3 separate regions of the Homo sapiens genome follow, and regions 1 and 2 are each linked to region 3. Evidence: promoter capture Hi-C in 16 types of primary human blood cells and fetal thymus (Javierre and others, 2016). All regions are on one chromosome and are shown on one strand. The core of a region is centred on a gene start or on the middle of the fragment in contact, and the rest is flanking DNA. Distances in the headings are between cores, read along the strand shown.

What was found. Contacts are between HindIII fragments. The CHiCAGO score rates a contact against its expected background, and 5 or more counts as called.
Region 1: a contact is called between a fragment that was not itself captured here and the fragment with the promoter of LAMC3 in region 3, in 1 of 17 cell types (M0 macrophages). The highest score is 6.7, in M0 macrophages.
Region 2: a contact is called between a fragment that was not itself captured here and the fragment with the promoter of LAMC3 in region 3, in 1 of 17 cell types (M0 macrophages). The highest score is 5.4, in M0 macrophages.

The regions. Positions count from the first base shown.
Region 1 is chr9:130,471,238-130,475,875 of GRCh38, reverse strand. ASS1 (argininosuccinate synthase 1) reads right to left here. Exons shown (of 15, transcript NM_054012.4): 8 at 4,361-4,391. Among named protein-coding and RNA genes, the nearest start is that of ASS1, 29 kb to the right of the region's middle. RefSeq lists enhancers at 3,320-4,056, 4,057-4,638. The HindIII fragment of the contact is 3,447 bases long and covers 433-3,879 here.
Region 2 is chr9:130,443,294-130,447,919 of GRCh38, reverse strand. It overlaps ASS1 (argininosuccinate synthase 1), which reads right to left and starts at 2,959. Exons shown (of 15, transcript NM_054012.4): 1 at 2,925-2,959. RefSeq lists enhancers at 152-819, 1,489-2,156 and a silencer at 3,037-3,156. The HindIII fragment of the contact is 165 bases long and covers 1,760-1,924 here.
Region 3 is chr9:131,007,740-131,012,433 of GRCh38, reverse strand. LAMC3 (laminin subunit gamma 3) reads right to left here and starts at 3,260. Exons shown (of 28, transcript NM_006059.4): 1 at 2,847-3,260. The coding sequence starts at 3,219. RefSeq lists an enhancer at 1-201. The HindIII fragment of the contact is 4,105 bases long and covers 1,418-4,694 here.

The sequences.
Region 1 (4,638 bases), core at 907-3,406, 540 kb after region 3:
CTGAGGCAGGAGAATTGCTTGAACCTGGGAGGCGGAGGTTGCAGTGAGCCGAGATTGCACCACTGCACTCCAGCCTGGGTGAGAGAGCAAGATTCCGTCCCCCACCCCCCCACCAAAAAAAAAAAAAAAAAAAACACCTTGCACACATTCACGTATTGCTTCCCATCTGCAGTCTGAGTTCTCAGCAGCCCCATTTGGTAAGAAGGTCAAGCGCTCTTACCCCATCAACAGATGAAGAAATTGAGGCTGAGCGGGAGGGACTGGAGCTACAACTGTGAGTTCTGTGCAGGCAGAGACCACGTGGGACTTGTTCCCTGGCACTCAGGACAGGAGCCCCGCGAGGTCCTCGCCAAATACACATTGTATTTTAGAGTGATGGGCATTACCCCGTGCCAGGATCAAGAGCTCAGGCTGGGGGGCCTTGGGGAAGCTTCACTTCCTCCAGCCTCAGTTTCCTCATCTGTAAAATGGGGAAAATGATACCTGCCCTTGGCCATCTTACAATTTAAGTAGTATATATATATTTTTTAATTGGACATGAAAACACACAGGAAAATGTCAGGGAAGGCCTGGTACAAACGGGAACATGCTCTGCAGGTGGAAAGGGCAGCTGAAATTCACTCTGGGGGTACATGCTCGGCCCAGCCTCCTCCTCATTCTGCATGGGATGGGGCTACATAAGTGCCTTGGAAGCTCACCTGTGGTCATTTGCCTGTGGCTCTGTGTTAGAGTGACCAAGTGCCCTGATTTCTCCTGGTTTTAGCACTGAAAGTCCTTTGTCCCAAGAAACCTCTTAGTCCTGGGCAAACCAGGACAATTGATCCTTCTAAGACAGGGACTGTGGTGGATCCTCCACCCCCACCTCCAAGGTACGATGTGACTCAGGGCCAGCTGTATCCCTGCATCAGTGCCCATTTGTGGGGCAGGAACAAGAACCCAGAACCTTCCCTGAAGACAGACTCCAGGAGGTAGGAGGGGCCCTGAGGGACCCCCAGCCTGATGCCTCTATGGACCACAGGGAAAGCCAAGGCTGAGAGGTGGCTTCTCCAAACCATGCTTTGGAAGCTAAACACAGGGACTCTTTCCGCCACCTTATGCTGGTTCCCAGCTGCTGTAGTAACCTGGGCTGAGAAACAGGGTGAGGCCTGTGGCCAGAGCCAGCCAGCATCACAGCCACAGGTAGGCATCAGGGCTGGCCCACCCTGCCAACTGCAGCATTCCCTGGGCACAGACGGGTCCCAAGGCTCATCCTCAGCAAAAAGGTAAAGTGAACTGGACTGGATCTTGGGGTGACCACACAACTCCACAGCCCCATCTCCAGCTGCCTGGGACTCCCCCAAGCCTCCAACCAGGGTGCCGGTACGAGGGCCCCACTCCCACCCAAGCCCAGCTCTCTCCCACCTCCACCTGCGCTGGGCCCGACTGTCAACTGTTTTCAATGCGTTGCTTGTCACTTTCTCTCCCGCCACACTTCCTGAGGGAGCCCCAGACCGAAGTGGAGGCTGACAGTGTGTGCATTTGGAAGGAGAGGGGATGGGAAGACTGGAGGACGAGTTTCTGCAGACCGCAGCGGAAGTCAGAGGCAGCTGTCGGGCAGGCACCTGACAGCGCCGATTAAATAAAATAACTAAATAGAAATAAAATGACATTTGCTTTGCATTCCGCGGTGGCTCGAGCGCCTGCCTTCTTTTTACTCTCCTTCCTAAAAGCCCAGTTCTAATGACAAATAGTTTGTTGCCAAGTATCAATGCCATCTATTTATCCCTCCCAGCGGGAGGGCTCACTTCCAATGTCATCTGTGGGGGGGGGGGGGTGCGGGGGAGGGAAGAGAGTGAAGAAAAAGAGAGAGAGAGAGTCGGGGTGGGGGCTAGGGGGAGAGGGCGAAAGAAAGCATGAAACAGGCCCCGAGAAGGAGAAATTGGAAGCAAATGGCCCATGAACTAAACCATGATGTAGAGGCATGATCGATGCCGCAAATGGTTTATTCATCCATCAGCTATGGCGGGCCGGCGACTGAATGAACTCTTTCACTGTGGACCGTATGAAGTTAAAGCAAGTAAATTTCTATCTTTCTTCGCATTAGCTGCCTCATTGCCCTTCAATCAGCCCTCACGGAGGCAGAAAATGGCTCAGCCATCTGCCTTCAAGCCCTCCCTTCCGCAGGTCTCCTGGCTTCTTTTGGAGAGGGGGAGGGGCACGGGTTCCCCAGGCTCTGTTCCCCTGAGCTCATCCCGAGGGGGACAGGGCTGCCAGGTCCAGGGATGCAAGGGTGCGTCCTGACGTTGAGCCCCACCCTCAGCACAAAGCCCTTGGGGAGTCTGCATGGCTGGGGCAAACTTCTTTCCAGAGTGACTGGACTCTGGGTGCCTGGGTGGGACTCTGGGTGCCTGGGTGGGACTCTGGGTGCCCCGGGCCTCTCAGCAGGAACGATGTTTCCCCTGACTCACACCCAGCTTAGCCCAGCCCAGCCTTTCTTGAGAGGGGTCCCTGAGAGGACCTTGGACCCTTCCTCCCATGAAGAGGTAGCATGGGACCCCCAGCTGCATGACTGAGGGCTTGCCCTGAGACAGGCCAAGCGCTTTAGATGCCCTAGGAGGGAGGTGCTGTGTTTTCCCACTTTGGGCAAGGAGTACTGGAGGCTCAGAGAGGTTGGGTAACTTGCTCGAGGTTGCACAGCAATAAGAAGAAAAGTTGGGATTTAGACTCGGGTTTCCTGTCTCTGGGACCCAAGTGTGGGTGAGGTAGCAGGATCCTTAATCCAGATTCTCTTTAGTACTGACTTCTCCACCCAATGCCCTCATGAGACAGGAGGCCTGGGAGGGCGCAGGACCTGCCCACCGTAGCTCAGTAACCTGCTCCAGGCCCCGGATGCCCTCCTGCACGGTCCGAGGGGGTGATTTCCCTCTGGCCTTGCTCTGCTTTCTCAATCCTGAGGTCCTCTATTCTGGGGGGGCCTCCTCTCTGCCCCCATAGGCTGCTTGCAGAGGCCATAGGCTGCTTGGAGAATGGCCGGGAGTGGTTGCCCAGCATGCTTGGGGCCCACGGGCCTGAGAGGATGCCCTGCCTGGAAGCCACCCTGCAGGCTCGGCCTCCCTGCCTCCCTTGGAGCTGACTGACTGGCTAATTAGGGTGGCTGGCCTGAGTGTTGTGGGGTCAGCAGAGCATGAACTAGAAAAACCTGTGACCAGCAGGCAGCAGCCACACACAGGGGCCATCAGCCCCCAGGGGGCAAGGGTGGCAGCTCTCCTGAGTGACAGGTTTGGACAGGGAGGGGCCGTGGGCAGTAGGGGAGCCACAGAGCTGGAGGGCACCAGCCCCAGGGCCCGTTCCCTCGCCCTGAGCAGCCGGTGCCCGGGCCTCAGTTTCCTCAACCATAAAGTGAGGATGCTCCCAGCCAGTGTCCTAGGAACTGAGCCAGGACAATGCCACCCCCGGCCCGCTCCCCAGACATGGTGGCTGCCATGTGATATTACAGCCAACACCGACCAGGGGGCGGCACGCGGGCGTGAGAGTGACAGACGCCCGGGCCCTGGGGGATCCTGGGCGGGGCTCTGGCGCTCCCCAATTTCACCAAACCTCCCCGGGCACCCTCCCCTCCAGCTGGTCTTCTTGATTCCCCCAGGCCCAGCTGCATCCCCTCAAAAAGCACACTTTTCCCGCCTCCAAACCAGCCTCCCCGGGGTGTGGGGCTGGGCCCGGGAACTAAGACACATTCCCTCAGGGACAAAGAGATTTTTCTCTTCCCATGATAGATTTGGCCCTGCCTCCCCCACCTCCCACAGTGGGCAGGGGTAGACACAAAGAAGCCCCCTACCCCCGGGAGAGAAACCCGAAACTTCAAACAGAGCTGAGGGCCCAGTCCAGCCCGCCCGGGAAGCTTGGGACCGGATCAGGGTGGCCGGTGGTGGCGGGTGTGCAACACGGATCCAGACAAATGGGGCCTAGGGCTCTCAGCCATGCCTCCCCCCACCCCCCACAACCAAAACTCCAGCAGCACAGCCTGGGAGCTGGTGGGCACAGGCTGGGCCCTCCCCCAAGTGTCTCATCTGCCTAATTACTTCTTTATTGTCTCACAATCACACTCTCTCTCTATGCTGCCCTGAGATATTTCCTTCCCCTGTTCATCCCAGAGGCAATTAGAAGAGGAAGGGCGGGGGGAGGTCTTCAAATGCAGCGAGGAGACGGTGGGCAGAGGGGGGCCAGTGCGGGGGTCGGGGAACACAGGCAGGGCTCGGCCCCAGCCCCACGGCTGGCCCCCGTGAAATTTCAAATTAGGCTATAAATACATCAGACAGCATCGGCATGGAGCTGCTACCACCAAAGGTGGCCAGCTGGGAGGAGATGGGGTTTGGGGGATTACCTTGGGGTTCTCCAGGATTCCAGCCTCGTAGCTGCGGAGGGGAAAGGAAAGACAGGGTCAGCTGGGGAGGGACATGGCATGTCCCCATCCCCCAACACACACACCCCATTGTGCCCATGAGCCTGGTCTGCCTTTTACTCTCTGCCAGAGCATCTGCTGCCAACCTGCCTGAAACATTCTGGGCCCACCATAGTCACCCGTGGAGCTGCAGGTTGTAAGAAAGAGCTGGGGCCTTTACCTGTCTTCTGGGGACTGCCCCGGGGCTCTGCACGTGGTTG
Region 2 (4,626 bases), core at 593-3,092, 560 kb after region 3:
GGTGAGATGCTGGGGGAAGGAGCCCAGAGCTGGGCACCAAGCATGTATGTGCCCACTAAGCTCTGTGCACCGCTGCTATGGCTGACCTCAGCCAAGTTCCTGGCTTGCTAAGCCTCAATTTCCTCATCTGTACAACCTGACAGCCCTCTGGGTTCTGACCCTCCCAGACATTGGGCTTTCTTCCTGGGAGCTGCGCCTGGCAGGCAGATCCTGGCTGAATTCAGCCTCCCCTAGTCCCAGCTCCACCCCCACCACATCCCCCAGAAAGGGCCACGGCAGGTTTCTCCAGCTCCCTGGCAAATGCCCACTGCCCTCCAGCCCTCCTTCCCCGGAAGAGACACCTGGGAGGAGGGAAGGTGGCCTCGCGTCAAGGTACCAGAGCCACCTGGCTTTCATTGGGATGGCATTCTCTGTGGCCCCAGCCACAGCCATCTGTCCAGCTTCCAGCAAACAGGCCAGCCTGGGCGCTCACTTGACACTAAGGAAAACTCGTGCTACTTGAAAACGTCAGAGCTGGAATGACAACAAGAGCGGCTACTATGTTCACAGTCACAGGTGCATCCTCTCAAGGTGGAGACTGCCATTACCACCTATTTACAAAGGAGGAGGCAGAGGCTAAGCGGCCAGCCGAGGTCACAAGCTAGCGGCTTCAAACCCAGCCTGACTGCAGGCCACTTGCTCTTCCCTGCACTAGGCCTTCCACTCCCTGGCTCCTAGGAGACCTCAGATCTCCCCTTCACTCTACACACCTTCCAGAAAACCAGCCCCCCAGTGAGTCATGGCCAACCTGCCCACTATTTCTCTGGAGAGCCTGTGTGCTATAGCTCAGGCCTACTGCCCCGTGGAAGATTCCCCTGCAACCCCTCGCTGACATTCTAACTCAGCTGAGCTCGGTTTGTCTTTGGTGATGGACGAAGGGCACATTCATTCATTCGTTCCACTCATATCAAAGTGCCTATGGGTGCCTGGTCGACCCCAAGTCTGGGGAGGGAGCCACGCCCTGGAAGATCAACTTTGCCCAAAGCTACATCAGAAATCAGAGCCTTAGACTCTGAATTCCAGCGAAGTTACCTCTTTCCACATGGGTGCCTGGTGCCCACAGGCAAGCCACTGACTTCAGGGACTGTGTAGTCAGTGCTCAGATGAGGCATCTGGTTGACCTGGCTGGCCTCCCAGCAGGCCAAAGATGAGATGGGCCCGGGTTGGGAGGGGGAAGCGCTTGTGCAGCAGGCTGTTTTGGGCCTGGCTCCACCCCAAGGCTCCTGCGGCCCTGGGCCTGCTTCCCAAGCACTCAGGAATGGAGACTGTGCTGAGAGTGGGGCCTCCCCTTCCCTCTCACGACGTGTCTGCCCCCGCACCGGCCAGGCGCTCAGCAGGCAGGAGTCACTATTCATTCACTTGATCCACCCCCACAGAGCAGAACCAGAATTACTTCTCAGCATGGTGCACAGATGGCCCCGCCAGGACAGGGTCCCGCCCCCACCCCCAAACTTCCCCGCCCTAGGCCTTGGGCCTAAGGGGTCTGGGAGGGAGAGGGAGTTTGGAATGGAGACTCCTCCAGTTCCTGCTCCTAGCCAAGCTTCCCAGTCCGTGTGGCTGCTTCTCCCTCCCTCTCATCAGAACCTAACCCCAGGCACAGTTATTGTGCAATTGGACCCAGGCCCAGCACCCAACAGTCTACAGAGCCCTTAGCAGCCGCACAGTATCTGCAAATGTTTCCTGAGCCCTCAGCCCCAGCCAGCTCTAACAGACTGAAGCTTGGGGGCCAGGCACTTTGGGTGGCTCGAGCCTGTAATCCTAGCAGTTTAGGAGGCCCGAGGGAGGAGGGTCGCTTGAGCCCAGGAGCTCGAGGCCAGCCTGGGCAACATGACGAGTCCACATCTCTGATAAATTTTTAGAAAGAAAAGAAAATGAAAAGGAAGCTTGGGAATCTGGAGGCTGAGCCAAGGCCTCACCAGCTCTCCCCATCACTGGGTTTGTGCTTGCTGGGAGCGGGAGGATCAAAGCCCAAGTCCCCTAGGTCTTGATCTACCCCTGGGGAGAGAACAGGTCTGTTCCTGCCCTGAGACCTGCAGCCTGACTCGGCTGCTCGGGAGTGGACTCTCCACTTCTCAGAGAAGAATACTGAGGCCAGGCCAGCCCTCCTCAGGAACAGCCCTGGCCGCCTGGGAGAGGAGTTTCCTCTCTTTCACAATGACCCTGCCTCCCTGGAGGGCGCAGCCGCCCAGGGGCCAAAGGCAACAGCAGCCCGAATAGAAAATATTCCTGGCACTGCCCCTCCCACAGAGCCCAGCCCAGGCCAGCAGGAAACCCCGCCGCGAGGCCGCCAGCCCCACCGGGGAGGGCCAGGTGGCTGCCGCCCCCTGCAGGGAAGGGAGCCAGGGCCACCATGCCCATCTGTCCAGGGTAAACTGAGGCTGCGGGGAAAGCGATACGTCCAAGCCCCAGAGGGGCTGGACTCCTGGTTTTACGCAGAGAAATAGAGGTGGAGACAGACGGCGAGTCCGAGAGAGGGAGAGAGAATCGGGAGCCCCCCCACACGCTCCGGACTCCCCAGGTCTCCATGTGGGGGCTTCACGACACAGAGGAAGCCGGATCCGACAAGGAGTCCAGAAAGGACCCGGCTGCGCAGGGAACAAATAACCCGAGCCGCTCTTCGGACCCGGGGACTCGCGCCCCCGGGGACTCGCGCCCCCGCCGCGTCCCCCACGCTCCAGAAACCTGGAATCCGGTGCCAGGCGTTTGAGCATCGGGAGCCCCTTCCCTCCTGCCTCGGTCCCAGTCCCCGGCGAGTGGCGATCGGGGTCCGCCCTCTGCCTCCGCGGGCCCCGGGGCGGGCGTCTTCTACGCCTCCTCCTCTGGGCCCGGGAAGCGGGTGCTCTCGGCTAGGGAGTGGGCAGCGAGAGGGGCCGAGGGCTCCTTACCGGGCTCGGGCAGCGGTGGCAGGCGGCAGAGCAGGACTGGCAGGGGTGCCCATCCCAGGTTATAAGCACAGGGCCCGGGGGCAGGGCCGGTGACCGGGGACACGTGGCGGGGACGCGCGCCACAGACCCCGCCCCCGGGCCCGGCCCCCGCCTGGAGCCGCTCAGCGTTCACAGCCACCTGCAGATGGGCGGGGCCCGCCTCCCCAGGCCTCGTCCCCACCTCCCCCCGCCTCCCACCAGGTCCGGGCCTGGGCCCGGCGCCGGCTCACCCTCCCAGGGGCGCGCCGGCGGGGGCGCAGGCGGCTCGCGGTTCCTGGCCCTGGCCCGCGGGCTGGAGGCGCCAAGGAGGGCGGCAGTGGCTGCGACCCATGTAACTCAGGGGCGGAGGGTGGCCGCAGCCGTCCTTCGAGAGACTTGCCTCCTGGCCCTGGGGAAGCAATTTAAACGCTTCGCGGTGGGAGCCGGGATAAAAGTTCCACTGGCGCAGGGAGCTTCGTGCTCACTTCTATCCGGTGCCGGCAGCCTGGGCCTTCTGCAGCCCCCAGAGCCCCCTCCCTCCCCAACCATAGCCTCTGGTAGCCGAGTAAGGATGAGAAAACCGAGGTGAGCCGGCGCGGGAAGGCCCGGCTTTCATCCCTTAGGCCAGGGCTGATTGCTGGCCTGTCTTCTCAGAGCCTGGCACCTGCCCAGACTCCAGAGGGCACCCAGTAAGCAGTGAGTAAAAGACTGTCTGGCTGCGAACCCACTAGACAGGAGGGAAGGTTGAGGTTCAGAGAGAAGTCTCTTGCTTGTAAAAAGCAGCTGGGAGTTGTGACCCCAGGCCCGCCTTCAACAGCTTCTCTACCTCAGGAGTTTCCCAGCTTGGTCTGCCGGCTCCAAAGCCCTGATCACTGCAACCACAGCCCCAGTAAAAGAGCAAGTCCTGGGACCCCATCCAAGGCAGTTGCTCCATAGTGAGCACTGACCCCAGAAGGGAGGACTCCCGGTCCTCAGCCGGCTCTGAACCTGGGGGAGGTGGGAGCCCCAAGCCTTGCCCAGCCGCTACCCTGGAGTCAGTGCTCCTTTTAATCACCATCCACTCTCAGCCCCTCTGCCAGTCAGCCCCCACCACCCCCTCAAGCCCATGGCAAGCAACAGTAGCTGTGAGTCCTTCTAGAAGGAAAAAAGGATCAAACCAATTCACAAACAAAGCCACAGCTCGATTCTCTCTTAAGCCCCTTAGTTCTCTGACACTTAAACCTGGGATGTGGCCCTTGATGGCAAAGGGGCCCCTGGTGAGCCACGTGGGGCTGGGTGTACATGGGTGGCTTGAGGCCCCTTCTAGATGGGAGGCGGTATCACAGCTGGCCCCCCTCAGCCCTCTCACAGGAGCAGCTGGGGGTCTCGTGGAGTCTCTGGGCCTCCCACACTAGCAGGAGGCAAGTGAGGAACACCTACACAATGACACCCTTGCAGCAGTTGTGTGTCCTTGGGGCGGTCACTCCCCACTGCAGCCTGTTTTCTCATTGGTAGGGTCGCCCTGGAAAGAGCAAGCATTCTGTTTTCACCTTCACGACTACCCTGTATGAAGTACCTGTGATTGTTATCTCAATGGTATGGGCAGAAACCTGCTGCACAGAATGACGGTGTATCTTTCCCAAGGCCACACAGCATGTGAGTGGCAGAGCGGAGCTAGAATCCAGTGTCTGAAGCTCTGGCTCAA
Region 3 (4,694 bases), core at 2,011-4,510:
ACACAGGGACTGCCATGGCTCCGACCCGGGCTCATGAACCCGAACAGCTGCTCAGGAAGTGGCGACTCTTATCCGTACGGTACAGGTAAGGAAACTGAGGCTGAGAGAGGGGACTCCGCTTGCCCAGTGAGTGGCTCTGCTGGGCCTAAGTCCAAAGCCTCCTTTCGTGATTTCTATCCTATTCTGCCTCCCAGAGCAGGCAAAAGAGAATGCTGAGCTGGCCCCAGAGCACAGGACAGAGGAGGTGACCCTGTCACTCACACTTGTGGACTCTCTCCTATATGCCTGGTTTTCGGCGACAAAACAGGAAGAATGCTCACCGGGATAAGACACAGCAGGGAGTGTGTGTGTGTGTGTGTGTGTGTGTGTGTATGTGTGTGTGTGTTCGCTCTCTACATTCACAGTGTGGAGGCTCTCAGGTTCCTTGCTTTTAGAAGGATCAGAACCACTCTGCTTCTAAGGTTCTAGGCAGAGTTCCACGAGGGTGCACAGCTCAGCACAGGGCCTGGCACACAGTAGATGCACAGTAAACAGGAACTACCTCAAATCCAAAAACTTGGCCATTTCTCCCAACTTCCTCCCACCTTGTTTGTGCCTGGGCTGAGCTCTTTCCTTGGCCCCTGGGTTCCCAGGACACATGTGATACCCTTTGTCATGGAGCACTGTGTCTCCCCAACAACTCCCCACCCTGTCCCAGATTCCTTCCCCTGTGGCCTTGGGGTCCTGCCAGCTCCATCCAGACAGCTCCCCCAGCCTCCCCCCTCCCCACTGGCTTCCTGTCCCCTCCCCCTCGTCCCATTCAGAAGCCCCACCTAGTGATCCAGATAGGCTGAGAGAAGGTGACGTGGCCCCAGAAGAAGGGAGTTTCTGAGGTGGCAGCCAGTACCTGTGTGCTCTGCAGAGCGGGCTCACGGTCCTCCCCGCACCCCACTCCAATGTCACTTCCCAGCCCTCCCCAGGACACTGTCACCAGGCTGAGGTGGAGCTGACTCAGTTGATGGGTGGCGGAACTCACATCAAAGAGTTTATGCTCTGACCTCTGATGTCCATGGATGTCCACGCTCAGATGCTCACTTAGCAGCTCTGTGCCTTTGGGCAAAACAACCTCTCTGAGCCTCAATTTTCTCAGCTGAAACATGGGATACAGTCCCATCATCCCTAATCCAAACTCCTAGGCTCCAAATGTGTTTGGGAATTGAACATTTTTCAGCTTTTAGAAAGACGATGCAGGCCTTATACCATATATTGTGCTAATACCCCCAGTGGGGTCTGGGGCTGCCGGCTGTACTCAAATGAGATTTCAGTAGCAAAGCGAATGAATATTCATTCTCACTAGCATAAACATAGCTTATAAATAGCCTCAGGTCAGGTTTAGCAGCAAAAATGAGTTATAAAAATAATTTGAGTTTTCAAAGCTTTGGGAGGCTGACCTCGAAGATAAGGGAGTCTAACCAGTGATACCAGCCCCTCCTGAAAGGGCAGTGGAGGCTGCAACAGGAAAGACACTTGGCGCTTACCCGGCCACAGAGGACATGGGAATCGGGCTGAACACGGAGGGAGGAGAGAGCATTCCAGCTCCCTGCAGTGGGGGCAGGGGCTGAGAACCGGGGCTGGGTCCAGACTCCAGATTCTGATTCCTGGAGATCTAAGGGCTTCTGCACCTCGGCAAGTCATGAGCAGGGCAGAGAGGCCATGCCACCGGGCGCAGCTGCCCAGCAGCACGAAGAAACTTAGTCCTCCTCCCCAGAGGGTTAAACTTTGCCTGTGCAGTGATGAACATCACAGCTTCTATCTTCCAGAACCCACCCGAGGACTGCAGGCAGCTTCAGGGGTCCACTGAATACCTGAAGTTGACCAGAAGACCCAAGATCAGGAGCCCCTGCCCTAGAGGGTGACCAATTCAGTCCTTGGTGTGTCACCTCCCCAACAGTTCTGGTCTAGGATGGAAAACCATTACAGGGGATTATAATTGCAACCTAGAACCAAAGCTCAGCAAGTGACTCCCTGCCTCTCCCGCCCCACGGGGCACCCCTCAGTCTATCCTTCTGGCTATCTAGGGGTACAGGTCCTGTTTTTTTTTCTTCTTTTTTTCATTCTTTCTTTTTATTAAGAGATAAGGTCTCACTCTGTAGCCCAGGCTGTAGCACAGTGGCACTATCATATTTCATGCAGCCTCAACCTCTCAGTCTTAAGTGATCCTCCTGCCTCAGCCTCTTGAGTAGCTGGGACCATAGGTGTGCACCACCACGCCCAGCTTTTTTTTTTTTTTTTTTTTTTTTTTGAGACGGAGTTAGCTCTGTTGCCCAGGCTGGAGAACGGTGGTGCGACCTCGGCTCACGGCAACCTCCACCTCCCGGGTTCAAGCGATTCTCCTGCCCCAGCCTCCTGAGTAGCTGGAACTACAGGCACCTACCACCACGCCCGGCCAAATTTTCTATTTTTAGTAGAGACGGGTTTTCACCATGTTGGCCAGGCTGGTCTCGAACTCCTGACCTCAGGTGATCCGCCCGCCTCGGCCTCCCAAAGTGCTGGGATTACAGACGTCAGCCACCGCGCCCGGCCTATTTTTCTTTATTTTTTGTAAAGATGGGATCTCACTACGTTGCCCAGGCTGATCTTGAACTCCTGGGCTCAAGCGACCCTCCCATCTCGGCCTCCCAAAGTGCTGGGATTTCAGGAGTGAGCCACCGCACCCAGCCTAATTCCTATTTCTGAGCCCCTCCATCCAACACCATATCTGGGTCCTGCAGCCCAACCTGGGCGCACAGCAGCTCAGGCCTCAGCCTCAGACCCCCAGTGGAGTGGGGACACGGGGTGCGGTGGCGGTGCCCCCAGCCCGCGCTTACCTAGGCGGAGGGTGATGTTGACCGAGGTGGGGTACTGCACGCCGAAGGCCATGGACGGGCTCTGCCACCAGGTGCTCTCGTCCTGGCTGTGGAAGTCGGTGAGGTAGGAGGCGTTGTGGTGGCGCTGGGGGTCGGCGGCGTCGCAGCGCTGGCAATGAGCCCCCGCGCCCGCGGCGCCCACGTGGGGACAGAAGTCCTCGGGCGGGCTGCCGCACGTGTGCGAGGCCTGGGCGAGCCGCCCAAACGCCGCGTTCTCGAACACCGGCAGGCAGCGCTGCGGGCGCCCTGCGCCGTCATAGCACGCGCCCATGCCCGCGCCGGCCGCCCGCGGTGCCAGCAGCGCCAGCCCCAGCAGAAGCGCAGCCGCCGCCATGGTCAAGGGCACCGACGCCGCGCGCTCTGCCGGCCCCGCTCGGCTAGGGTGGGCGCGGACCGCGCGCTGGCCGCCAGGACCCGCCTTCCCCTGCGGGGCGGGGAGGCTGGAGGGAGGGGCGGGCGGCGGCGGCCCCACCCCACTAAAAATACCAGGGACCGCGCCGTCCCCGGGCGCCCACTCCCACCTGCTGGACGTGCCCGGCAGTGCGCGGCTCGGGAGTCTGCCCCAGAGGCGACCCGGGCCTCTTTGAGCCTCAGTTTCCTCGTCTGTGGAGTGGGGTCGGTAAAGATGCAGGCTCATTCTCGCCATTGGGAGGCTTCAATGGCTGCTCATTAAACAGAAACTGTTCAGCAGTGCCTTGGAGTCCTGAGATAAAAGGGGACAAGAGGATCTATCTCTAACTGATCGCTACCGTTTGCGCATCTCCTCCTAGCAATAAAGTGTGCCCTGGACAGGGTTGTGAGATGGCTCCGCATAGCTCCTGTCGCCCTTAACCCTGAAAAGCACTCCTGCTGCCGGCTGCGCTCTGTCCCCACAGCAAAGAGATTCTAACCTGACATTTGTGACAAGGGTACCTGGTCTTATCACAAATGTCACCTCAGAGAGGGCTTCCTTGTCTTCTGCCCCAACCCCCATAAATGCCCCCTTTACTCCCCATTTATTAACATTAGCAAATCGAGGGAGAGAAGTCATTCGATAAAATTTAGCAGCCAGGTCGTGCGCGGTGGCTCACGCCTGTAATCCTAGCACTTTGGGAGGTGGAGGCGGAAGGATAACTTGAGGCCAGGAGTTCGAGACCAACCTGGGCAAAATAGTGAGACCCTATCTCTACAAAAAAATACAAAAATTAGCCCGGCGTCATGGCACAAGCCTGTAGTCCCAGCTACCTGGGAGGCTGAGGTGGAAGGATCCCTTGAGCCCGGGAGGTTAGGCTGCAGTGGGCTGTGATCATGCCATTGCACTCCAGCCTGGCCAACAGAGTCAGACCCTGTCTCGAAAAAAAAAAAAAAAAAAAGGCAGCCATTCCCAGACGAACTCTAAGGAAAATAGAAATAAATTTCCTGGCCTGGCGCGGTGGCTCTCGCCTATAATCCCAGCATTTTGGGAAGTTGAGGAAGGCAGATCACCTGAGGTCAGGAGTTCGAGACCAGCCTGGCCAACATAGTGAAACCCCGTCTCTACTAAAAACACAAAAATTAGCTGGGTGTGGCGGTGCGTGCCTGTAATCCCAGCTACTCAGGAGGCTGAGGCAGGAGAATTGTTTGAACCCGGGGGGCAGAAGTTGCAGTGAACTGAGATCATGCCATTGCACTCCAGCCTGGGCAACAAGAGAGAAACTCCATCAAAAAAAAAAAAAAGAAAGAAAAGAAAGAAAGAAAATTTTTGGAAGCAAGATGAACTGTAGTGGGCTGATTCACTACCAGTTATTTACACATGATTAAAACAATACGGTTGTGGAAAGGACTACAGAA